2 separate regions of the Homo sapiens genome follow, and region 2 is linked to region 1. The links are contacts of gene promoters, found by promoter capture Hi-C in blood cells and fetal thymus (Javierre and others, 2016). All regions are on one chromosome and are shown on one strand. The core of a region is centred on a gene start or on the middle of the fragment in contact, and the rest is flanking DNA. Distances in the headings are between cores, read along the strand shown. Region 1 holds the start of STX1B (syntaxin 1B). Region 2 holds the start of BCKDK (branched chain keto acid dehydrogenase kinase).

The links. The method cuts DNA at HindIII sites, captures the fragments that hold promoters and counts their contacts. A CHiCAGO score of 5 or more calls a contact.
Region 2: the fragment with the promoter of BCKDK here is called in contact with the fragment with the promoter of STX1B in region 1 in 2 of 17 cell types (erythroblasts and endothelial precursors); the score reaches 5.4 in erythroblasts.

What each region holds. Positions count from the first base shown.
Region 1 is chr16:31,007,202-31,013,278 of GRCh38, reverse strand. It overlaps STX1B (syntaxin 1B), which reads left to right and starts at 2,641. Exons shown (of 10, transcript NM_052874.5): 1 at 2,641-2,912. The coding sequence starts at 2,883. RefSeq lists an enhancer at 2,104-2,605. The HindIII fragment of the contact is 27,284 bases long and covers 1-6,077 here.
Region 2 is chr16:31,103,932-31,109,640 of GRCh38, reverse strand. It overlaps BCKDK (branched chain keto acid dehydrogenase kinase), which reads right to left and starts at 1,255. Exons shown (of 12, transcript NM_005881.4): 1 at 1,162-1,255; 2 at 223-594; 3 at 62-130. The coding sequence starts at 417. RefSeq lists enhancers at 1-637, 638-1,531, 3,139-3,955 and a silencer at 863-1,402. The HindIII fragment of the contact is 13,040 bases long and covers 1-5,709 here.

The DNA.
Region 1 (6,077 bases), core at 1,392-3,891:
AGAAGAAGAAGAAGAAGAAAGAAGAAAAGAAGAATGGGCTTTGCAATCAAAAGATACAAACAAGGTCAGACACAGTGGCTTATGCCTATAATACCAGCACTTGGGAAGCCGAGGTGAGAGCCCAGGAGGCTAGGACCAATCTCGTCTCTGCAAAAAAAAGAAAAAAAGAAAGTTAAATTAGGGCCAGGCACAGTGGCTCACACCTGCAGTCCCAGCACTTTGGGAAGCCAAGGCGGGTGGATCATTTGAGGTCAGGAGTTCCAGACCAGCCTGGCCAACATGGCGAAACCCTGTCTCTACTAAAAATATAAAAATTAGCCAGGCATGGTGGCAGGCACCTGTAATCACAGCTACTTGGGAGGTTGAGGCAGGAGAATCACTTGAACCCAGGAGGCGGAGATTGCAGTGAGCCAAGATCGCGCCATTGCACTCCAGCCTGGGTGACAGAGCGAGACTCTCTCTCAAAAAAAGAAAGAAAGAAAGAAAGAAAATTAGCTGGACACAGTGGTGTACACCTGTAGTCCCAGCTACTCAGGAGGCTGAGATGGGAGGATTGCTTGAGCCCAGGAGGTCAAGGCTGCTGTGAGGTGTGATTGCACCACTGCACTCCAGCCTGGGGAACAGAGTGAGACCCTGTCTCTGGAAAAAAAAAAAAAAAAGCAAACAAGACCCCAGCCCTGCCCTTTATTAACCTTGTGAACTTGGATATGTTATGTGACCATGCAAAGCCTCAGTGTCCTTGTCTATACACTTGGGATCTTAGCAGTGGCTACTGTGAGGTTGGGAGGTTTCTGGGAGCTACCAGCATAGTGAATGCAACACGTTGGATGCCCAGAACGTGCTGGCATTATAATGGCGGGGAGGCAAGGACAGCTTTCTGTGCTTTGAGTGGCTGGGTGGATGGAGATGACGCCATCTCTGAGGGAGAACACAGGAAGGAACACTTTGGGGACAGCCACCTCCTTGAGGTCCCCACGTCAGCGCTAGCCATGCCCACTGTAGTCATGGATCTACTCATGGCTCTGGTGGCATCTTCAATCTCTGTCTTCTTGGTGCCCAGCTCAGAGCTTAGGCATATAGTAGGGGCTGTCTTACAGGGGGAGGATCTGGCTCGCAGGTACAGATGTGGGCACTGCAGACACGGAGGTGCAGAAAGATGCAGGTAAAGAAGGAAGAGAATGCCAGGCATGGTGGCCCAGGCCTGTAATCTCAGCACTTTGGGAGGCTGAGGCAGGAGGATCGCTTGACCCTAGGAGTTCAAAACCAGCCTGGACAACATAGTGAGACCCTGTCTCTACAAAAAATAAAATTAGCCAGGTGTGGTGGCGCGTGCCTGTAGTCCCAGCTACTCAGGAGGCTGAGGTGGGAGGATCACTTGAGCCTGGGACGTTGAGGCTGCAGTGAGCCGAGATTGCACCACTGTACTCTAGCCTGGGCAACAGAATGAGACCCTAACTCAAAAAAAAAAAAAAAGAGAGAATGGACGGAGCCCAGGGAACCCTGAGGTTGAAGGGCTGTGGGAAAAAAGGTAAGGACCTGGAAAGAGGCTGGGAGACAACACTCACAGATCAGGTTGGGGGGTAGGTGGGCGGAGCACCACAGACAGGAGGGTTTCAGGAAGAGGGGCTCATCAGGGTCACATGCTGCTGAGAGGTCAGGGATGGTAAGGCCCGACTGGCGGTGTGGGATGAGGGTTTATCAGACACAGATTTGGCACCAAGGAGGTCACTGGGTACCTGGCAAGAGAATGCCGGGTGCGGTGGCCCAGGCATGGAATCCCAGCACTTTGGGAGGCTGAGGCAGGAGGATCGATTGAGAGTCAAGACCTGTCCCATTGGGGACCGGCGCCCCATTGCAGGGGGTGGGAGGAGCTGGTGTGGTGTAAGGATGGGGAGAGGAGAGGTGGGCATCAGAACAGGAGGTCACTCAGACCCTCAGGGGCACCTGATTTCCCCTCCCACTAAGGACAAATTTCATGTTCAACAGTCAGAGCCATCTGCAGATGGGCCAAGAGGTCCTGGGAGGTAGTGAGCACCCTGTCCCTGGAGGCAGACAAGCAGAGCTCCGAGACCCACCGCGGCGGGAGAGGCCCAGGCTGTGCAACACAAGCCCCGTGTCCTTCTCAGCAAGCACCTGGCTGGTTCCCTGCATCGTAAAAACCACACAGAGGGTCGGTCTTTCTATTTATAGTGTCCAAAGAGCCTCCTGCAAGAACACACATGGGCTCGCACCCAGAGGTGGTCGGCGCGCAGCCTCACGCAGACACCAGACACAAAACACAGCCGCGATCTGTGTCTCCTGGAAAGGGATCCACATCCTGGCTCCCAGGTTATTCCCTGAATTCATTCCGTCACCCCCTCTTTCCGCCGGGCCACCCCACCCCCCGGGCCACCCTAGCATCTCCGCTTGGCTCTCCGCATCTCTCCCTGCTCCTCGGGCTCTGCCCACCCCCACCCGCCTCCAGGCCTCTCCCGCCCCCTCCTCGGGTGTCCCCCAAGCCCGTGACTACAACCCCCAGGCGCCCCCGGCCCGGGTGCTGCGCATGCCCCCTGCTCCTTGCGCGCTCCCGCTCCCCCCGCCCTCGCTTCCTCCTCACCTCCCTCCGCCCCCCTCCCCCGCGCTCGGCTCCCGCATCCCTCCATCCTACCCTGTGCCGCAGCCGCATCGCCACCGCAGCCCGGCAGAGCCGAGCCCGGCCCAGGCCCCTGCCCCTGCCCGGCCCTCGGCCAGTCGCCCCCGGCCCCGCCCCCGCCCGCAGGCCCCCCGCAGCGGCCGCGGCGCCCCCCGGCGCCCCCAGACCCCGGCCTCCGGCACAGAGGCGGGAGACCCGGAGCAGCAGCAGAGGCAGGAGGACTAGGAGGAGGAGGAGGAGCCGTCGCAGGATGAAGGATCGGACTCAAGAGCTGCGGAGTGTGAGCTTGGGGGTGGGGAGAATGGGGGGGCGGGACCCCAATATTGGGGGAGCGCGTGGGGATGGAGTGGGGGAGGTGCTGGGACGTGGGGGCGAAGGATGAGATCGGAGGTTGGTAGCCGGAGCACCCCAGTATCTTCAGGCGCCTGATGTCTCTCCAGTGAACCTGCATTTTGGGGACAGTGCCTGGAAGGGGTTGGAGGCCATGAAGACACAAGGGGGCAGGAGAGGTCTCAGGGGCCTCGAACACCCCGCATTCCCAGGAGGGCCCCGGGGTCTGGTCTGGGGATGGGAGAGAGTGGATATCAGGAGAAACCGGAGGAGACTGTCATCCCCTGGGCAGGTTTGCCAAAGAGAAGCATGGGGGCGGTGACTGGGCCAGGCTGAGAGTCTAGCAGGACCCAGATTCAGGGGATGCTACGGGGAAGGACACAGGTTGGGACTGAGATGCCAGCACCTGGCAGTGAATGAAGTGTGTGTGTGTGTGCACACGCGTGTGTCACTCCCTATAGGGAGGGGGCATCTCTCCGAGACAGGGAGGGAAGAGGTGGCCTCCGGAGAGAGCCAGAGGGCCAGGGCCTGAGACAGGGTGACCCAGAGGTGGGAGATGGGGATGCAGAGGAGAGGGCCATGGAACACGGGCCGTGCTCTGCTTGGGGGAACTGGGGCACCCCGGGCAGTCAAGGGCTGATGCAGGCCCCAGGTCTGCAGGCCTGAAGAGGCCCGGCTCCAAGAGTCTGGCCAGGCAGTCCCTGGTTTTGGGGGGACAGGGGAAGGACTGCAGTGGAGGCTGCTACCTGGAGGAACTGGGGAGTGGGGTTCGATGAGAATGGTTTCAGGGGCAGGGAGGACGCTGGGGTATTTGGAGAAATGACCTGGGGCCCGAGGAGGCAGCACTGACAGTCCGCACTGTGCTGGGCTGGTGGTGTTATGTTAATAAGGGTACCGGCCCCGGCTGAGCTGCCCAATGCACTGAGCCTTTACAGGGAACTGGTGGGTTGTTACCCCAGGGGTTATTACCCCACTTGACAGATGAGGAAACTGAGATTCAGGCGTGGGAAGGGACTTGTCCAAGGTCACCAAGCAAGTGGGTGGGGGGCAGACTGCAATCTGGGTTTCCTGTCTGCTAGGTTGACACAGGTCTCTGCTTTTCTGGCCTTTGAAACAGAAGTTTCAGCACTGGGGGTGAAGAGCTGTCCCCTGGATTTGGGGGTGGGGACCCAGGTTACAGACAGACGAGAAGAAGGTGTTTGGAGGCAAGTGACCGCTGTCTCTGGGGACAGACAGGTTGCCAAATGGGAAGCAAGGAGGAGCTGGTGGCTGAGGGAGGGAATTTTAAAGGTTTCTTTATTACATTTTTACTGAATATACACTCAGGCATGAGGAAAGTGACAGTAATAATAAACATTGTTTGAAGTGTTTTATGCATATTCACTCATTTTGATCCTCACAGCAATCCTATGAGACTGGTTATCTCATTTCATAGATATATAAATATCTTTTTAGATATATAGATATATGTTATCTCATTTTATAGATAAGGACACTAAGCTCAGAGAGGTTAAGTAATTAGACCAAAGTCACACAGCTGGTAAAGGCAGGATTCAAACCCAGGCAGGCCGGCTTCAGCATCGGTGCTGTCAATTCCCCTCCTCAGTTTGCAGAGCAGGCTTTCATCCGTGATGTCATTAGAGCCCCACTGACCTCCTGGCAAGTGGACGGGGAGGCTCTTTCATTTTAGAGTTGGGGAAACTGAGGCCCAGAGTGGTTGAATAACTTTCCAAAGGTCACACAGCTAGCAGGTGAGGGATCCGGACTTGAACCCAGTTCCCCTGCTACCAGGACTATTCCATGACTCCAAAACCCAGGGAAATGGAAGTGGGTTGGGATCAGGTGGTGTGGAATTGGGGTACAATTCGAGAAAGAGGGAGGGAAAAGGCTAAGCGGGGTAAGGGGGAGGCAGGGGAGGGGGAGGCCTCATGAATGAGTCAGGGGCCCCTGCTCAGAGGTAAGGAATCCTGTTGGCTGTGGCTGCCGGAGGTGGTGTGGAAGGGTGAAGGGGCTGAGTGGATGTGGTGGCTTTGGTATTAGTCACAGCTCAGGGAAACTGGAGATTCAAGAGGGGGCGGGCGGGGTGGGAAAAGCTGACAGATTCAGGTAGCGTAAGGGTCTCCCTGCTACAGTTGAAAGCAAGGAGCCTGGGATGCAGGAGACACCTGGCAGGGTGTGGGGGACCTGGAAACGGGGTCTCTGAGACACTGGGAGGGATGAGGCAGGGGCGGTGGTGGGAGGGGACATTAGCCCAGGGGACTGATTGTCTTTCCAACAGTACCTTGGCATTCCCAAGGGGTTCTCAAGTCCGTTTGTCACACAGTGGTTTCGGGAGCCAGACTGTCTGGGTTCAAATTCTAATTTTGCTACTTCCTGTGAGACCTTGGGCAAGTTGCTTAACCTCTCTGGTCCTCAATTTCTTCGCGTATGAGTTGGGAGAAGTAAGAGTGCCTGTTTCACAGGGTTGTCCTGAGGACTGGAAGTAGTTAATATGCATCAGGTGCCTAGGAGGGGGCCTGGCGCCCAGCAGTGCTGTGTGTCTGTTACCCAGCAGATGGCTTGTTTATTTCTCTTCAACACCACACAAGCCCCCTGCGATGGGCAGGACATGGCCCCTATTTTATTTTGGAGTACATTGAGGGCCAGAGGGGGTAAAAAAAACCTGACTTGTCCAAGGTCAGATAGCTTTTAATGGTTGAGGTGGGCTTGAACCAGGGTTTTCTGCGTCCAGTTTACCAGGCAACCTTGGTTGGTGCTAGGCTGGTTGTGGAGGCTGTGAAAAGGAGTTAATCAGCTAAATAGGTGTCCCAGGGTCTAAGGAGTGAAGCCAGAGTGGGGCTCCAGAGGAAAGAGCAGAGTGAGTGAGGTGGAGAGGAAGGTGGGTTATGGGAGAAGACAGGAGGGGCACAGGGAGGGCTGAGGTCTGAGACGCAGCTGTGGAGTCGGGTGGGAGAAGTGCGGAGACACCCTGGGAGGAAGGTGGGGCCTGCACTGCAGGAGCCTGAATCTGAGGCTGGACAGGATGAAGGCTGCTGAGGGACCGCCCCGTGCCCCAAAGGCCCTCAGGTATGAGGCAGGCACAGTAGGTGCTTTAGAAACGCAGCCCTGAAATCAC
Region 2 (5,709 bases), core at 6-2,505, 98 kb before region 1:
GAGCCTGAGTGTCTGGGAGAGCTCCAGGATCCACGAGGAAAATAGAGGGCGTGAATCTTACCAGAAGGTGGCTGCCGTCCTGAGAGCGGCCAGCGTAGAGCATCATGGTGGGCGTTAGGCGGACTGAGGGCTAGAGAGGGAGAGAGGCCTTGAGCAGAGAACCCCCAACACTCTCCCTCCCGCCTACATCCCGGACCCTGGGCTGGCTGCCCCCTTGCGCACCTTCTCCGCTGCCGCGTCGATGGCCGACTGGTTGTAAAAGGAGGTGACGGTCTTGGAGCGCTCCCGAGCCATCTCCACGTGGTGTGTGTCGGTGGCCGACGTCGAGCGGGCCCGGAGCGCGAGTGCGGGTCCCAGGAGGGGCCGGAGCGGAAGCCCGCCCCCGGGACCGCTCCTCAGCACCGACGCCAGGATCATCGTCTTGCTCCTTTCAGACCCGGTGGCCGCTAGGACTGAGGATCCGCTAGGACTGAGGACCCAGGCGACCCAAAATGGGGCAAGGGGGTGTGGGTGGGTAGGGGCTCTTCTCCGACTTCAGGGACCAGGGTGCGTCGAGGATGCTGACAGGCTCAGCCCGCGGAGAGCAGCTCCCATCTACCGGGGCGGGGAAGAGGAAGTTGTAAGGATCCGAATCCACAGAACCCGCACCATCTCTCCACCTGTGCATCGGTCTCCCCAGACCCGGGCGACCTCTCCCCACCACTCCCACCGTCTCCCCAGATGCACACAGGCCGCGCCCAAAGGACCTAGCCTCCCGGGGGCTTCTATTCCCCAACCCGAGGCTCTACTGGCGGTGGGAGGGCTGTCGGGGGAGGAGCCCCTCAGACCCTTCCAGCCCGAAAACCTCGCCCCAGCGCCCCGGGGTCCCGGGTACCCTTCTCAGGGGGCGGGGCTGCCCCTGCCTGCCCAGCGCCTTCAAACCCGGGCCCTGGGAGCGCGGCCAGCGAACGTGCGACACCAGCCCTGGGCCCCTGGGGCCGGCTTGGGAGGGTGCGGCACGGAGTCCCCAGCGGGACCCCCCACGCGGGTCACTTGGTTCGGCCCGGATGCCCCCCATATGGTAGATGCCAGCCCCGTCTGCGCGCCCGCGCTGTGATGGAGGCTGCGGACGTGCGCCGCGGGGCCTCCGCGGACTGAGTAGGCTGGGGTCGCCCCACTTACCGCGGGGCCGGAGCCAGGGCCCGGGTCCCAGCGGAAGGGCTCGAACAGTCCACTCGCCAGGCGCCCAGCCGCCTGCGCCCTCCGCCGCCGTGACGTCGCGTGGGCGGCAGCGCCCGCTGGGTCCTGGGAGTTGTAGTTTGGTCTGAGGACGTGCCGTCCCGGGCGCCCGCGCATCCAGGCCACGCCCTTGCTCCCGGACCCCAAACAGCACCGCTTCCTCCACACGGCTCTCGAGGCTCTCCGTGTCCCTCCCAGCCTCTATCTCCTGCTCTATGAAACGGGCTCCCTGGGAGCTGGAAGATCTTAGATGTAAAGCGCACAGATCACGCCCTACCTGACTCCTTCTCGGAGCTCTTGTCCTCCTTCCAGTTCTTGGTTCATTTATGGGTAACCAGGCTTCAAACCCCAGCTCGACCCCTTAATATCTGGAGCAAGTTATTTAACTGCTCAGTGCTTGGTAAGATGAAGAGATATCATCAGTTTTGGGGTTGTGTGGATTACATGAATTTATATGAGTGCCTAGAACAGTGCCAGGCGTGGAATTAGCACTATATAAGGGTTAGGCATTATTATTATTCACTCATGCCTGCAGATAATGCAAGTCGCTGACTGGGTGTCTTTTCTGCACCAGGAGAGGAGATTGGGCAGTGAGTTGAATAGATCTTTCCGTGCCCTGCATAAGAAAACAGTTTCAGTATCATTGGCTGTGATGAGGACTTTCAGAGGAGGCTGCGGGAGCCTCAGATAGAAACTGAGACAGCTGTGTAGGTGCAGCCTGAGTAGGACTTGCAAGGGAGCGGGGTGGGAAGGGTGTGTGGCAGGACAGACAACAGCCCAGATGGTCTGAGGATATGGCTGGAGCCATATGGGATCTGGGAAGGAGAGGGGCGGCAGCAGAGAGCGAAGGATAAGTCTGCATTTGTCCTAGGGTAGTTAGGAACTACTGAAGGGTTTTAACTGGTGGGCTCTCCTCCTTAGACAGAACCCCTTGTCTGCAGTGATTTAGAGTGGGGCGTTTGGTGAGACCAAAGGCAGAGAAACCAATAAGAAGACAATTACTTTAGGCCAGGCGCAGTGGCTCAGGCCTGTAATCCCAGCACTTTGAGAGGACGAGGTGGGCGGATCTCAGGAGTTCCAGACCAGCCTGGCCAACTTGGCAAAACCCCGTCTCTACTAAAAATACAAAAATCAGCCGGGTGTTGTGGCTGGCGCCTGTAATCCCAGCTACTCGCGAGGCTGAGGCAGGAGAATCGCTCGAACCCGGGAGGAGGAGGTTGCAGTGAGCCGATATCCCGCCACTGCTCTCCATCCTGGGCAACAAGAGCAAAACTCCGTTGCAAAAAAAAAAAAAATTATCCAGGCAGGAGGCGCTGGAAGGGACACGTTTCAGTGTGTGCACGTGCATATGTGTGTAGTGTGTATTTGTACTAATTGCAATTTTCTTTACCATGGTTATATATTTCCTAAATATGTTCAATAAAAAGTGCTAAGTGAAGCAAGTGACATCTTTGGAGGCTATCTTTATTTATTTATTTGGAGATGGGGTCTCGCTCTGTTGCTCAAGCTGTAATACAGTCGCTCCATAGTAGCTCACTGCAGCCTCCGACTTAAATGATCCTCCCACCTCAGCCTCTCAAGTAGCCGAGACTGTAAGTGTGCACCACTACCCCCAGGGTGATTTTTTCCCCCTCAGGCAATCCTTTTGCCACAGCCTCCCAAAGTGCTGGGATTACAGACGTAACCCACCGTGCCTGGCCTATTTTTCTTAGAGCCGGGGTCTCGCTATGTTGCCCAGGCTGGTCTCAAATTCCTGGCCTCAGCCTCCTGAGTTGTTGGGGTTACAGGAGTGAGCCACTGGGCCTGGCGGCTGTCTTTAAACTTGGAGGTTAGCCAGGTGCAGTGGCTCATGCTTGTAATCCCAGCACTTTGGGAGGCCAAGGCGGGCAGATGACCTGAGGTCAGGAGTTCGAGACCAGCCTGGCCAATATGGTGAAACTCTGTCTTTACTAAAAATACAAAAATTAGCCGGATGTGGTGGCATGCACCTGTAATCCCTGCTACTCGGGAGGCTGAGGCAGAAGAATCGCTTGAACCCGGGAGGCGGAGGTTGCAGTGAGCCAAGATCGTGCCAATGCACTCCAGCCTGGGCGACAGAGAGAGGCTCCGTCTCAAAAATAAATAAATAAATAATAAATAATAAACTTGAAGGTGAAAAAAATAAATAATAAATAATAATAAATATAAACTTGGAGGGAGGACGCCTCACCGTGACTGGCCTGCCTGAGCAATTGGGGGCAGACCACGGGAAAGGGGCGCCCTGCATCTCTGGGTTTCCTCTTTGACCCCCACCCACACCATTCCCACCCGTTCTTTCCCAACGTCCTGGAGTACAGCCAGGCGGCGGCAGCCCCAAGGCAGCCACGGCTGGAGCCCGTGGTAAAAGGGAGCGGGAAGGGTGCTCCTGGCGGGGAGGACAGGCTGCGCAAAGCAGCAAAGGACTGGCAGTGGTCTGTGCGCCAGAATCTGGCGCTCACGTGGCCGCGGCGTGGACAGGAGCCGCAGGCGGAGGAGGCTGCGGCTGCCACCGAGGTGGAGAGGTCTGGCACAGGCCTCACCCCATTTGACCCCGCTCGCTAGGCCCCGGCTCGGCCTGGACTCGCTGCTGCCCCCGGCGGCGGAGGTTGGACATGCACCTCGCGACCCCCTTTTCAGAATACTGTATACAGGTCAGGCGGCTTTCTTTTTTTTTTTTTTTATTTTTTTATTTTTTTTTTTTTATTTTTATTTTTTATTGATCATTCTTGGGTGTTTCTCGCAGAGGGGGATTTGGCAGGGTCATAGGACAATAGTGGAGGGAAGGTCAGCAGATAAACAAGTGAACAAAGGTCTCTGGTTTTCCTAGGCAGAGGACCCTGCGGCCTTCCGCAGTGTTTGTGTCCCTGGGTACTTAAGATTAGGGAGTGGTGATGACTCTTAACGAGCATGCTGCCTTCAAGCAGGGCAGAGGGGCTCCTCACTTCCCAGTAGGGGCGGCCGGGCAGAGGCGCCCCTCACCTCCCGGACGGGGCGGCTGGCCAGGCGGGGGGCTGATCCCCCCACCTCCCTCCCGGACGGGGCGGCTGGTCGGGCGGGGGGCTGACCCCCCCCACTTCCCTCCCGGACGGGGCGGCTGGCCGGGCGGGGGGCTGACCCCCCCACCTCCCTCCCGGACGGGGCGGCTGGCCGGGCAGAGGGGCTCCTCACTTCCCAGTAGGGGCGGCCGGGCAGAGGCGCCCCTCACCTCCCGGACGGGGCGGCTGGCCAGGCGGGGGGCTGATCCCCCCACCTCCCTCCCGGACTGGGCGGCTGGCCGGGCGGGGGGCTGATCCCCCCACCTCCCTCCCGGACTGGGCGGCTGGCCGGGCGGGGGGCTGACCCCCCCACCTCCCTCCCGGACGGGGCGGCTGGCTGGGCAGAGGGGTCCTCACTTCCCAGTAGGGGCGGCGGGGCAGAGGCGCCCCTCACCTCCCGGACGGGGCGGCCGGCCGGGCGGGGGGCTGACCCCCCCACCTCCCTCCCGGACGGGGCGGCTGGCCGGGCAGAGGGGCTCCTCACTTCCCAGTAGGGGCGGCCGGGCAGAGGCACCCCTCACCTCCCGGACGGGGCGGCTGGCCGGGCGGGGGGCTGACCCCCACCACCTCCCTCCCGGACGGGGCGGCTGGCCGGGCAGGGGGCTGACCCCCCCTCCCCCCTCCCGGACGGGGCGGCTGGCCGGGCAGAGGGGCTCCTCACTTCCCAGTAGGGGCGGCCGGGCAGAGGCGCCCCTCACCTCCCGGACTGGGCGGCTGGCCGGGCGGGGGGCTGACCCCCCCACCTCCCTCCTGGACGGGGCGACTGGCCAGGCAGAGGGGCTCCTCACTTCCCAGTAGGGGCGGCCGGGCAGAGGAGCCCCTCACCTCCCGGATGGGGCGGCTGGCCGGGCGGGGGGCTGACCCCCCCCACCTCCCTCCCGGACGGGGTGGCTGCCGGGCGGAGACGCTCCTCACTTCCCAGACGGGGTGGCTGCCGGACGGAGGGGCTCCTCACTTCTCAGACGGGGCGGTTGCCAGGCAGAGGGTTTCCTCACTTCTCAGACGGGGCGGCCGGGCAGAGACGCTCCTCACCTCCCAGATAGGGTTGCGGCCAGCAGAGGCGCTCCTCACATCCCAGACAGGGCGGCGGGGCAGAGGTGCTCCCCACATCTCAGACGATGGGCGGCCGGGCAGAGACGCTCCTCACTTCCTAGATGGGAAGGCGGCGGGGAAGAGGCGCTCCTCGCTTCCTAGATGGGATGGCGGCCGGGCAGAGACGCTCCTCACTTTCCAGACTGGGCAGCCAGGCAGAGAGGCTCCTCATATCCCAGACGATGGGTGGCCAAGCAGAGACGCTCCTCACTTCCCAGACGGGGTGGCGGCTGGGCAGAGGCTGCAATCTCGGCACTTTGGGGGGCCAAGGCAGGCGGCTGGGAGGTGGAGGCTGTAGCGAGCCGAGATCACGCCACTGCACTCCAGCCTGGGCACCACAGAGCAC